Regions from separate parts of the Homo sapiens genome. Here regions 1 and 2 are each linked to region 3. The links are contacts of gene promoters, found by promoter capture Hi-C in blood cells and fetal thymus (Javierre and others, 2016). All regions are on one chromosome and are shown on one strand. The core of a region is centred on a gene start or on the middle of the fragment in contact, and the rest is flanking DNA. Distances in the headings are between cores, read along the strand shown.

The links. The method cuts DNA at HindIII sites, captures the fragments that hold promoters and counts their contacts. A CHiCAGO score of 5 or more calls a contact.
Region 1: a fragment that was not itself captured here is called in contact with the fragment with the promoter of CHRM3-AS1 in region 3 in 1 of 17 cell types (monocytes); the score reaches 8.1 in monocytes.
Region 2: a contact is called between a fragment that was not itself captured here and the fragment with the promoter of CHRM3-AS1 in region 3, in 5 of 17 cell types (monocytes, M2 macrophages, M0 macrophages and 2 more). The highest score is 16.7, in monocytes.

Annotation. Positions count from the first base shown.
Region 1 is chr1:239,806,680-239,809,379 of GRCh38, forward strand. The region is part of intron 5 of CHRM3 (cholinergic receptor muscarinic 3); the gene reads left to right. Among named protein-coding and RNA genes, the nearest start is that of CHRM3-AS2, 89 kb to the left of the region's middle. The HindIII fragment of the contact is 4,094 bases long and covers 1-2,700 here.
Region 2 is chr1:239,788,718-239,791,481 of GRCh38, forward strand. All of the region lies in intron 5 of CHRM3 (cholinergic receptor muscarinic 3), which reads left to right. Among named protein-coding and RNA genes, the nearest start is that of CHRM3-AS2, 71 kb to the left of the region's middle. The HindIII fragment of the contact is 5,345 bases long and covers 1-2,764 here.
Region 3 is chr1:239,898,540-239,901,239 of GRCh38, forward strand. CHRM3-AS1 (CHRM3 antisense RNA 1) reads right to left here and starts at 1,333. Exons shown (of 2, transcript NR_046582.1): 1 at 1,225-1,333. The region is part of intron 6 of CHRM3 (cholinergic receptor muscarinic 3); the gene reads left to right. The HindIII fragment of the contact is 7,774 bases long and covers 1-2,700 here.

The DNA of each region.
Region 1 (2,700 bases), core at 132-2,631, 92 kb before region 3:
TATTGTAGATATTGTAGAAAACATACACATACCTGCATGCTATCTCTGCTTTCTAAAAAAGAGGTACATTTTAACTTTTTAATTTCTTTTAGTTGTTCAGAATAGGCAATGCTGGCCAATAAGGAGAAATGCTGGAAGAAGAGATAGAGTATCTGGCAATACTAGGTGTACTTCCATTACCTTTCAAGGCGTAAAATTAATAAACTGTTCACAGAAGAATTCCAAAGAAGCGTACATTCTGTTTTGAGAGTAGTACCTGCCGTCATTCCATAGGCTGCACCCAAGCCAGAGAATATTCTACTTGTTCCTGGCTCCACATGAGTTTTGATGGTGATAATAATGAAAATTTCCATTAATATAATTTCTTTATTTGGGGTTGGTATTAGATGATTGCATCCAAAAGCAAAATGTGATGATTTGACAAATATTTTCTTCTGCAGGTTTTGATTGTGAACACAATAAGAACATAAAAGAAATAAAAGTCCTATTTAGGTGGAAGATTATGTGACTTTTTAAACTTTAAAATGCAGTTTCTTTTTACTTCATTAGAGAAAGAAAAGTAGCTCCAACTCCTTAATACATCATTCTAAATAATTCTTCTTCTGGCCTTTTTATTATTGGATTTTCATTTATAGTACTATGGCAAGAATAATGTTTACAGATTGGCACAACCTGAAAAAGTCACCTTGTTTAAAATTGACCTACCATTTAAATATCATCATTTTGGCAATGAACACCTTCTAAACTTATCCTTCTCAATTGTGGGCATTAAGCCCATAAATAGGAATGCTACAGGGGGAATGAAAGGAGGGGTTACTTCCACCAGAAGAGAAGCCTTGGAGAAGTGAATGGAAAATGTTGCCTCTGTTTAGCATGAATGAGCCTGGGATTTAAATAACATTCTCAGGCCAGATAAATAGTTTTTCTTTGGCTTAGTAATCATGCATTGCATTCAGATATTTAAGTGAAATGTTTCTGGCTTTCCTCACTTCATCTTTGATCTTTACATGCTCTGTTAAATTTTAGCTCATCAACTTAATCACATTAAAAATCTCATTTATACCTTTTAGTATATAGAAGAGAAGCAGATTTGCTGTAAGAAACTGAGAGTACATGTAATTGAGTGTTTTTGCTTTGCGCACACACACACACACACACACACACACATACACACACACACGCACACATATCCCAAAATGCTGGGATATTCCAGAGTGATAAAAGAATTTGCTGCTTGGTGGCTGCATCATAAGTCATTATGATTATCTCATTATTCTTTTCTTCCCTCTGTTTCAAGCTGTTCTGCAATGAATATTCATTAGTTATATAAAACATGAAGTTTTTTAAAGAAACATATTCCAAAATTCCTTGGAATTCTTTATCGGTAATCGTCTGCCTTTTTATTTTTTGAAAAACTGGTTGTTTTGACCCCATATCTGACTAGCCCCAAAGTCCCAGTGTTTTGATGGGAGTTCAAATTCCATGGGAGTTCGAGGAAGACAGCCCTAGAGAAAGCTCTCCAGCTCCCTGTGACAAGTCGTAGCTGAAGTCAGATGTGCAGAAAGGAATTGCAATACTTTTTTTTGTTTATCCTCGTATGTGACCTTCAGGCAGAGTAAATCAGTACAGCTCTGATACCACTCAATAAAATGCTAGGTCATTTTATGGACAGGATTAATCTGCAACAGAGAAGGTGGAGATTCATGTTGGACATACGAACAAAGGGAGACAGAGTTTGCCCTAGAATGACACTGTGGGTAAGGGGACAGCTTCATCCTGCCTTAATTACCTGCTGTGTGAACTGTTTTCACTCCTGTGCGAGTGATCTTTCCCAGCTGTAGTACGAGATCAAATCTAACGGAATAAAGATGAGAGTCTCTTATTTGCCACCTAAAATGCCTAGCGATAGTTTTTGCCATATCGATTGGACCAATTCTTCGTGATAAGCCCTACCGCTTCCTATAACTAGAAGTGGATCATGAAGGAAATGCGAGTGAACCACTGATTTTATTCATAATCTCAGGCTTTTCCTGTACTTTCTGTGATAGCCCTCCAAAGAACTGCCCCAATACTTGCATTTCCTAGAAATACACTGTTTGTGAGAATTAAATCAGCACTCTCTTAGAAAACCCATCAGAAACGACTGCTTGTATTGGTGCAGTGGACAAGCAGTTATTGAAAAGGCCTATTTAGAATACTGCTTTTTCCTACTTGTAAAGTCTTGTCAAGTTCCCACTTAAGCACTGCATGTTACTTTTTACAAAAGGAAGAAATGAAGAAGTTGGTGAGTTGATATTTCCCTCACCCTGTCAAAGTCTGGGTCTTTGACTCTGAAGTCCATTTTTTTTTTTTTTTTTTGAGACAGAGTCTTGCTCTGTCACCCAGGCTGGAGTGCATTGGCGCAATCTCGGCTCACTGCAAGCTCCGCCTCCCGGGTTCACACCATTCTCCTGCCTCAGCCTCCCGAGTAGCTGGGACTACAGGCACCCGCCACCACACCCGGCTAGTTTTTTTGTATTTTTAGTAGAGAAGGGGTTTCACCATGTTAGCCAGGATGGTCTCGATCTCCTGACCACGTGATCCGCCCGCCTCGGCCTCCCAAAGTGCTGGGATTACAGGCGTGAGCCACCGCACCCGGCCTCTGAAGTCTATTTTTAATCCAAAGGCCTTAGAAGGTCAACTTCTGAACCCATAAGATTC
Region 2 (2,764 bases), core at 125-2,624, 110 kb before region 3:
ATGGCACCACTGCACTCCAGCCTGGGCGACAGAGTGAGAATCTGTCTCAAAAACAAAATAAACAAACAAAACAAACAAGTGATAACCCTGAGCGAAAGACTGTAATATACTTTAAATCTACAAAAAATGAAATTTTCATTCAATTGTAAAGTATATTTTATGCCATTTTAATTCTTTGAAAGGATATTTAATGTGTATTAGTTATAGTAATTCTAACTATTATATAACTTACAAACTCTAAAATCCCAGTGGATTAAAACAGCATTATCTTATATTTCGCTTGTGTAAGAGTCCACTTGGGGTCTTCCTGGTCAGGCGTCTTTTCTCTGAGTGATTTGAGGACCATTCCATCCTTTGGCTTCACCATGTTCAAATGTGGTCTCCAAGGTCACACTAAAGGTGTCTTCGTTGCACCCATTCAGAAGAGAAAAGAGCATGTGAGATGTGGTCATTGGAGGGTACTAGACCAGGTTTGAAGTGATGCATATTACGTCTGTCATGTCTCACTGGCCAGTGCTCAAATTATGCCTAATTACAAAGGAGACTGGAAAATGTCATCTAGTTGTATACTCTGGAGGAAGAAAAATTAATTTGGCGAAGATTAAGCAGTCTCTGAACAATAAATAAGCAATATGAAACAGGAATATACTTCTACCATCATTAAGCAGAACACCACTGTCTCAGTGCATTTTGCATTGCTATAAAGGCGTGCCTGAGACTGGGTAATGTATAAAGAAGAAAGGCATATTTGGCTCACAGTTCTGCAGGCTATACAAGAAGTGTGGCACCAACATCTGCTTCTGATGAGGGCCTCAGGCTGCTTCCACTCATGGAGGAAGGTGAAGGGGAGCTGGCATGTGCAGAGATCACATGGAAAGAGAGGAAGCAAGAGAGAGAGTGGGGAGGTGCCAGGCTCCTGTTAGCAACCAGCTCCCTCAGGAACTAAGAGCGAACTTACTCACCATCCCCAACTTCAGGTAGGGCAATAATGTATTCATGAGGGGTCCACCCCTATGACCCAACCACCTCCCATTAGGCCCCACCTCCAACACTGGGGATCAAATTTCAACATGAGGGTTGGAAAGACAAACATCCAAACTTTAGCAACCGCTTTCCCAGCCACACTGGATAAGTGTGGAGTTAGCTCAGTTTTGCAGATTCCTCATTAGTCTTTTGAAGAATAGTTAAGATCAGAGACCTGGATGTGAGACATGGAGTGAAAGGAGATCATTTTGGAGCTTTAAGATTTGACTACCCCACTGGATTTCAGACTTGCATGGGGCCTGTAGCCCCCGTTTGGCGAATTTCTACCATTTGTAACCCGTGTATTTACTCAATACCTGTACCCTAGGTGTATTTACTCAATGCCCGTACCCATTGGATCTAGGAAGTAACTAACTTGCTTTTGATTTTACGGGCTCATAGGCAGAAGGAACTTGTCTTGTCTCACATGAGACTTTGGACTGTGGACTTTCGGGTTAATGCAGAAATGAGCTAAGATTTAGGGGCACAGTTGGAAAGGCATGATTGGTTTTAAAATGTGAGGACATGAGATTTGGGAGGGACCAGGGTAAGAATGATAGGGTTTGGCTGTGTCGCCACCAAATTCTCACCTTGAATTGTAGTAATACCCACACGTCAAGAGTAGGACCAGGTGGAAATAATTTAATCATGGGGGAAGTTTCCCCCAAACTGTTTTCATGGTAGTGAATAAATCTCATGAGATCTGATGGTTTTATAAAGGGGAGTTCCCCTGCACAAGCTCTCTTGCCTGCCACCATGTAAGACATGACTTTGCTCCTCACTCACCTTCCACCATGATTGTGAGGCCTCCCCAGCCATGTAGAACTGTGAGTCAATTAAACCTCTTTTCTTTATAAATTACCCAGTCTTGGGTATGTCTTTATTAGCCACATAAGAACAGACCACTACAATCAGTTTCCCCTGTCTAGCCTGGCAATTGTGGAAACCTAGGCAGAGAATCACAAAGCTGTTAGCAGATCTAAAATTTGAAGAAAAGCTCCCTGACCTCTTTTACAGAATATTAGTTCCTAAACCTCATTAACTTCCTGGAGCACAAATGTGATAGAGCAAGGACTGTGCTTGGGCCTCAAAATATAGCTTTGTGGACATCAGAGTCAATGGCAGGATAAAGTCTCATCTACTCCATAATGTAAAACATGTATAAGTTTGTGAAAAGTACTGTTAAAATGAAAAAGCATGATAAAATTTATTCACAGAAAAACAAGAGAGATTTTATTTTGTTTTTTGTTTTTTTCTGGTAAAATATCACCAAAAAATAGGAAAATATCTGTAGGAGTCGCTCCTGGAGAAAAAAAAAAAAAAACACACAAAACTAGCATGTCCCACAGCTTTTCTTTATTTTTGTTTATTCATTTATTTTTGAGACAGGGTCTCTCACTGTTGCCCATGCTGGAGTGCTGTGATGCAGTCTCGGCTCACTGCAACCTCTGCCTCCCAGGTTCAAGCAATTCTCCTGCCTCAGGCACCTGAGTAGCTGGGATTACAGGCATGCACCACCACATCCAACTGATTTTTGTATTTTTAGTAGAGACAGGGTTTCACCATGTTGGCCAGCCTTGTCTCGAACTCCTGGCTTCAAGCAATCCAACCTTCTTGGCCTCCCAAAGTCCTGGGACTACAGGCGTGAACCACCATGCCCAGCCAGTAAACATTTCTTTAAAAGGGGCATGTTGAGCAATTTCAGTAATACCATGAAAGGATCTGCTAAGCAGGGAGACTT
Region 3 (2,700 bases), core at 83-2,582:
ATGTTGCAAAGATATTTTGGGTTTTTCCCATATCATCACTTAAAAAAATAATTATTATTATAGACGTAGAATTAATTTAGACTTCTAGAAAAATTTATACGCTTTTAATTGGTTCAGCAGGTTTAAAAATCGAGAGCCCTCAAACATTTTTCCCAAGTAGGTACTGCCCGGTTGGCTCAGAGGACATGAAATGAGTTTATCTCCTTGGAATTCATTATAACCAGAAGCCTCACATGTATATTGGCCTTGTCCGTTTCTGTAAGCAATCTCACATGTATTTCACACTGGATATTTACACATTTTTAAATTTTTTAAATTTACCTATATATTTCACAGACTTATAACCCCAGAAAAGTTATTTTTTGCCATAACTAGGGGGAAGAAGGCAAATTTCCTAGAACTAACCTTCAATTTCTCCTAAATTCAGTACTGTCAAACTTTTTTGTCTTTTTTCACATTTTTTGTTTCACCCTCTTCTTTTAAATATTAATAAAAGATGTCAAAATATCCACTGCAGTGGCTTTCCAACATTATTCAACACAAAATACATTGTACGTACATCATGACTATAGACATAATTTTATACGTGTGTGTATGTCGAGCAAAAATTTAATGAAGTGATATTGATTGTCATTATGTGGTATGCATTCTGATACGTCCTATTCAATTTGCTGTACATTTTTTTCTTTTTTAATTCTCATATTGGCCCACTAATTGGCTCTTGCATTTTGAACTCAGTGTGTGTGTGTGTGTGTGTGTGTGTGTGTGTATATACACACACGCATATATATCTATTGAATTTAGTGTGTGTGTATATATACATAAATACATATATACATATATAAACACATATACATATACACACATATACATATATACACACATATCTATACACATGTATGTATATGATATGTATATACATACGTATATATGTGTGTATATATACTCACACACATGTATATATACACACATACCAAGTTCAAAATGCAACAGCCAATTAGCGGACCAATTAGTGTGTGTGTGTAGTGTGTGTGTATATATATAGTAAGTTCAACATGCAATGTATATATACACTAAGTATATGTACATTGTATATAAGTAAGTATACTAAGTACATAGTATATATACACGATATAAGTACACTAAGTATATCGTATATATATACTAAGTATATATACATACACACAGATGTAACTTCCCCACAAAGGCACTGATGGTACCCACGTGCAGGATCTTGCGCAGTTTTCCACTTCTTGCCTGAGCTCTGGTGCCTGGAACACTTCAGTAACCATTCCCTGAATGTTGCACCCACAACCTGGCAGGGAGGGAGCCTGCTCTGACCCCAGAGAGGAGCCAGGCACCTGCCCCTGGTCTGCCCCTATCTGACCATGCCCTGAGCCCTCATGCAGGCTGCATTCCTAGAACTCTTGCCTGGGATTACTTATAAAGTGCGAAGGTCACTGGGCTGACAAGGATCTCTGTTCCCACCACCTGTTTATTCCTGAGCATTACAAGGAAAGACTTCCTGTAGGTCCCCTCACCAATATCATTCAATTCAATGAGTGTAGACTGTGAACTTCCTTGACTCAAAATATCCTAATGCTATGGAATAGCTGTTGAGTCAGGATGAGGAAGGAATATTAAACATAGGAATGATACCTTCTACTCAGAAAATCACCGTAAACTGAGGGCTCTTAGCCCGGGGTTATCACTGCTTCATTTGGGTCTGACCTACAGTCTTGATTCTCAGGAAGTTACATATTACCTATGAAATAATAGATATACCTGAAGTAAAACATTTGGTGACTCTCATTTCTAATAAGTACTTTTAGATATTCTTTTTTTTTTTTTTTTTTGAAATCCTTATGACCGGCTGATCACTTTCTCCTGTTGTCATCCTGGGTACCGATAGGACCTCCGTTGCTGAGCCTCCAGAGAACAGTCCTTTTAATGAGGCCGTGGCCCCAAGGCCTCGGAGAAGTTCATAGAAAATGTCTGAAAGAAGGTGGGAGGGATCTTGTTTCCTGGCCCTATAGGGACATTGTCTTCCTTGATAAAGCTGGGTACAGCCTTGATATGAATAGATTGGGGAGCACCAGGAATGTACCTCACCTGGGCTGTCGAGAAAAGACAGTGTGCTCAGAAGAGGTATGGCAGGTGCTGAATATTCCCTTGGAGGGACGAAGGCAAGAAAGGCCCCTACAGCAATGAGGGGAGAAAATCCACAACCCAAGTAGAACTAGGATTTCTTATGTGTGAGACAATACATTGCTCATTTACATGTAAAGTGTGTATAATATTTTTAATCCATCGTATTCAGGCGAGCAAGATCAGTCATTTCATTTTTGTATAACTTGCCTCGAAGCTGCCTGTTGTGGCCCCATTCTGCATAGCAAATCACCACAAACTTAGCAGCTTACAACAAGGTTCCCTGTTCAGGGTCTCAACACTGAAATCAAGGTGTTCGCCCAGCTGAGTTTACGTCTTAGGCAAGACTAAGGAAGAATTCATTACCACAGGCATTCAGGTCATCGGTGCTTCTGCCATGGTGACCTAGTGACCTCTGAGCAGCTGCCACCTCTGGGCACCAGACAGGAGGGCATGAGGCACGCATCTTCTTTGAGTCTGATCAATATTATCAGATGCGACCTCTTTTTCCTCCAACCTTCTCCGCATTTAAAAGCAACAGCAGAGTGTAAG